Linked DNA regions of Homo sapiens: region 1 is linked to region 2. Evidence: promoter capture Hi-C in 16 types of primary human blood cells and fetal thymus (Javierre and others, 2016). All regions are on one chromosome and are shown on one strand. Each heading gives the region's core, a stretch centred on a gene start or on the middle of the fragment in contact. The rest is flanking DNA. Distances are from core to core; before and after follow the strand shown. Region 1 overlaps TBC1D23 (TBC1 domain family member 23). Region 2 holds the start of ADGRG7 (adhesion G protein-coupled receptor G7).

What was found. Contacts are between HindIII fragments. The CHiCAGO score rates a contact against its expected background, and 5 or more counts as called.
Region 1: a fragment that was not itself captured here is called in contact with the fragment with the promoter of ADGRG7 in region 2 in 1 of 17 cell types (naive CD4 T cells); the score reaches 5.2 in naive CD4 T cells.

Annotation. Positions count from the first base shown.
Region 1 is chr3:100,305,527-100,308,226 of GRCh38, reverse strand. It overlaps TBC1D23 (TBC1 domain family member 23), which reads right to left. Exons shown (of 19, transcript NM_001199198.3): 13 at 1,684-1,790. Among named protein-coding and RNA genes, the nearest start is that of NIT2, 28 kb to the left of the region's middle. The HindIII fragment of the contact is 2,123 bases long and covers 213-2,335 here.
Region 2 is chr3:100,608,309-100,611,008 of GRCh38, reverse strand. ADGRG7 (adhesion G protein-coupled receptor G7) reads right to left here and starts at 1,408. Exons shown (of 16, transcript NM_032787.3): 1 at 1,038-1,408. The coding sequence starts at 1,152. The HindIII fragment of the contact is 7,171 bases long and covers 240-2,700 here.

The sequences.
Region 1 (2,700 bases), core at 25-2,524, 300 kb after region 2:
TGGGATTACAGGCGTGAGCCACTGTGCCCGGCCTACTTTCATTTTTAGAAGAAATGTCATTAACAACAAAAAAAATTATGTTTCTATTTCCATATCTAAATTCAGAGCCAAATTAAACTGTAAAAATTCTTTGGTACTTTGAAAAGAATGCTCTTTAAGATAATTTCTAAAATAGCCTCAATCAGTGTTTTTCAAATCTGAATATAAAAGCTTCAATAGAAAAACTATCCAGTGATGTGAATGGGAATATAAATTAGAATGTTTTTTGGAGAGCCATTTGATAATAATGCAGAAGTCTAAGGACTTTGGTAACATTTTAATCAAGTTATTCCACTTCCAGGACAAAATAATCATGGCATATGCAAATTTATCACTACAAAAATTAAATAGTGTTTGTAACAGAAAAAAACTGGAAACAATGTAAATATTGAACAATAGAGAACTGAATAAATTATAATACACCCATAAAATGAAATATTATTTAGTTATTTAAAGTGAAAATAGCAAACGTTTACTAAGTAATGGTGATTTCACACAATGGCATCAAGTTAAAAATAAGAGTATCAAATTAAAAATAAGATTCTCAGACAAACCTTATCTGCTGATGTGAAAATAATCTGATTTTGATTTGCATGGCTGAAGATAAACCTCAACTAACACAGGTAGTGAGTTACAATTTCGTAATAACTACTATTAAATATCTGGTGACAGGTACTATACTTTCCATTTACTTGCACTGTTAATTCTCAAGTTATCCTTAGAAAGAAGGTTATGTTGTTAACATTTATATTCCACAGGTGGAGAAACCACAGCTCAAAGATCTTGCTGGAGATCATGAAGAAAGTAAGTTGTAGATGAAATCTGAACCCAGGTATGTCAGACCTGTAAGCCCAAGCTACTAACTGTGACCTTGTACTGCAGTTTTCCTTCTATTTCTGTTTTAAAGAATAATCACTAGGTATGTGAGGACCATTATTTATGAATAATTTAATGACATCTAATTCAACTGACATGAAATATTGAAGTACTGGAAAAGCACAAAAGACCTATTACCCAAATATTTCCAAAGAACAGAAAAACAGATTTATCCACTGTAGCAAAACTGGGTAGTAATACACATCTCAATAACTAAAAATCAAATAAAATAGGATTGGCAACTTGTTCTTGTCTTCCTCTGCCTGGCCAATTCTCAAATGTGGATAGACTCAAGTCCAAATCATTTAAGTCTGTGATGGGGATGGGTACAGACATAGTGTGCACGAGATGATTATGAGCCCTAGTATTCTGGCAAAAACTAACTGGGAGATGCCTGGAATCAGCTTGCTTAAGAGTCCCAGCTATTTACAGGACCCAGATTTGTCCCCATTGATATTTAAGCTGGAACATAAAACTGTCACTACATGATACCAAACTACAGCTGGACAGGGAGAAATTTGAATTCAGCAGCTGAACTTCAAGAGCTCCCACCTAGTTTAACTGTGAAGGCTTGCTGTATCATTTCATTAATCTCACAATAAATAATGGCTTGCTGTATCATCTCATTAATCTCACAATAATATGACTCTTCATTGCATGTGTTTGAAATGTTTTGACTCCATTTCTGTTATGGTGGGGGTTTAGTAGTTAATCACCTTTTCTGGGAACTTATCCAAATCCGGTAACATATTCTCTACATATACTTACATCAACAGAATTGATACTGCTCCTTGAGCCTGAGGTACTAGCAATCCAATGGCCATATCCATTTTCTGGTCCATCCACATTAATGTCTGCCAGGTGCTGCTGCAGTGCTTAAGATAAATTAAAAAAAAAAGAAAAACCTAAAATATCAACACTCTTTGGAAAAATTCATTACCAACGAAATACAATAAACATGTCACAGCTGAGAAAAAAGGACTGAAGGAAATAATCACAGGTATTTCTTTCTGCACGTCTGTAAAGGAGTAAAGGCCTCCAAGCTAGAGCAAACCTTCCTATTCTTCCTTCTAAAACCCTCTGTACACGGATAACTTTTCTTAACTGACGCCAATGTGATGATAACTGTATAGGCTTTACGTTTTCTTCTTTGAAAGGAAATCTTTCAAGTATTAACAGATAATTTCTGCAACATTTTTATGACATAAAGGATAACAGAAAACCGATTGTGACTTTTGTTATACCATAAGGAGATATCAATCAATCTCTCCCATAATAAAGAAGCATTGTTAGCCATTAACAGTTACGGAAAGAGAGATTATTCTTGGTAAAGAAATACTTCATGGTTTTAAAAAATTTTCTAAAATCTGGGTTATACTATAAAAGAATGCTTTTCAGACACTTTTGAGAATTACAAGCTTAATAATCAAGTTTTATATCGTTACCAGGATTCCTAATAAATAACACTGAGCCTAGGGCCAATACATGTTTAACACTACTTATTAAAATAACCCCTTTTGTACATCACTCTGGGTATGAACCTCAAAAGTCATTAGTTATCAGGTCATGATATACAGAAGATAATCATAATCCTTGTTAATATCAACAATGACCAGGAGGAAATACATCCTAATGTTCCCAAAATCCTAAGTTACAGCCTAACTCCCATGATTAAAGCCTAAGATTCCATTACCCTCAACATATACTGATTTGATTTTTGGAGCTTCAGTTGCACAACTGGTCAGCATGTGATTCTTACATATTGATTTGATTTGATCATTAATT
Region 2 (2,700 bases), core at 159-2,658:
GTTAGGGCGGTGGGGTAGGGGGAGGACAAATCCATCCCCAGCTACCACTCCATCAGCAGCCAGTATGTCAGATCCCTCTGTTGGTCTTCAACACTGGATCTTTGCAGCCATGCTCCATGCTCCTGCTAGCTCCCCAACCTTCTGTCCTCCCCAGTTACCTGCTCAGAGGGCATACTGCCTCTCCTGCTGCCTTTCCCGATCGGCATTATTTACCCTTATTTATTGTTTCATTAGAAGCTTTCTCTGATTTTCACGAAAGGGAGTATGTAGCCCATCCAACATTGAATTCCTTTACGGAGAAGCTCTACAGCCCAAGGGATCCAGCATTAGGATCATTGAAATTTCGCGTTCTGAGTTCCAGCGGGCTTTTCTTTAACATCATTGTTTTACTCACTACTTCCCCTCCCACGTCCTCCTTTTCCAGGCCAGCTCTGGCACACAGCGGGGGACTAACAAATGTTCGTTGAATAATCAGGAAAGTCATTTAAAAATGGTTTTTAAATTTTTGATTAGTTTCCTACATCTGGAAAGTGGGAAATTTGTATGCAAACCATGAGATCATTTCACTTAAACCTTAGTGATGAGTTTCTTTAACTTCTCTCTTAAAATGAAATTCCATTCTGTGTATGTTTGATTGTATGTGTGTTATGCATGTGTGTGTATGTGTTTGATGCATGTGTGTGTCCTTGTTCATAACGATTTACCCTTTCCTGAATTTAGCCAAACAGACCTAAATGTGTGTTACTAATCGTTTTAATTATTACTCTTCTACCAATTCAGTCTGGAGTTAAAAGAGCATAAAGAGGCCAATTCAATTATGTCACTCTTCCCCCTGCCCACTCACACCCACACCTATTCATTTCTATTCAACCATCTGCTAGGCTTAACTGACTTGGTCTTTTATATCCCATAAATGGCACCTTGGTGGAATGCCTCAGACTGGACAAGGTACCTCCCAGTACTTGTGCACCAGGTGGCAGGGACAGAGGTCCCATACCTTCTCTTACTCTGAGTTAAACATAGCAGGACAACATTACCTCTTTGGATCCTGATCACAATCCTCCAGATGCCCAGTCCCAAAATGATGCCAGTCAGTAGTCCACACACGACAGCCACCAGCACCCTAAGGTTCCAGGCACGGCAGGAAGCCATGGTGAAGCCAAACCACAAATCCACTCCTGGGTGAGAAATAACTAGCTTCTTTTCTTCTTGAGCTAAAAAGTTTAATCGGAAACTATTCTAAAACAGAAAAACAAGTCCTCCCCTCAGTGATCTGTCAGATGGATGTCTTTGTATTTTAGGACTTTTGAGGCTAATCCAGTAGGATGCAGTTTGAATCTCCTAATAAAAGGTGCATACTCTGCTTTCAATTTCCTCATCCTTCACTCAAGGAGAACATGAAAAAAGTGATTAGAGTTATGGGAATAGGGAGATAACTCAGGGCAATAAAGAAGAAGGGGAGGGACTAGCCACAAGGGTCAAAGAGTGAATGCCCAGACAAGCCACAGAGTGAAGGAAGGGAACAAAATAGAAGAAACCAAAGAGGAAATCACAAAGGCAGTGGTTGCCAGTAGTCACCTATGGCTCGGCTTCCTGTATTTTTGTCTTGGGAGGGTACAGCAGAGATAGACTGGCAGGTGCTTCAGACCACACAAAACACTCTCTCGGGGAAATGAACTAGGTTGTCAATAAGAGGATAAATGGCAATCACCACACATGGTTTTTAGCGCTTGCATTTCTTTAAGGAGCCTACATTTTGACAGATGCAGTTGGTGAGTGTGCATACTGGCACAGGCTGGGTCTTGACAAGCACTAAAGCCCAGCATGATAACCCACCTGCTATGGGCTGAATTGTGTCCCCTCCAACATTCATATGTTGGAGTCCTAACCTTCGGTACCTCAGAATGAGGCCTCACATGGAGATGTGGTTACTGCAGAGGTGATCGAGTTAAAACGAGTTTGTTAGGGTGGTCACTAATCAATATGGCTGGTGTCCTCATAAGAAGAAGAAATCTGAACACAGACATGAATACAGAAAGATGATCTGAAGAGACAGAGAGAGAAGACGGCCATCTACAAGAGAGAGTCCTCAGAAGGAACTGGCTCTGCTGACACCTTGACTTGACTTCTAGCCACCCAAACTGTAAGACAACAAATTTATGTTGTTTAAGCCACCCAGTTTGTGGTACTTTATTAGAGCAGCCCTGGGAAACTAATACATCATCAGAGTAACTACAAACTGGTGTCTCTCTATAGATGCAGCTCTGACCCTCTCCTGCCCAGGCTCCCATGTTCTCCTTCCCTACCCTCTACCCTTACAGGGAAGAACAGATACATGAACATTCACCTCCTCAATCACAGTTTTGTTTTGGTAGAGAGAACAGATGCTCTGGTCTTCTCTGGACACTCCCTTGCTTCATCAAATCCATATTAAATGCCTTTAATGTGTTTGAATTGGTACAAGACATGAACAGGGTCCTCAAAGAACTCATAATTTCTCAGGGGTGAGATACCTAGATATAGCCACCTATAAGGCAAGTCATAACTGCTAAAATAAAAGATCATCATATTTAATTATTATGGAGTGCAGGTGCTCCTTGACTTACAATAAGATTACATCCCAATAAATCCACCTTAAGTTAAAAAATATCTTAAGTCAAAACGCATTAAATATACACCTAACCTGCTGAACATCCTTGC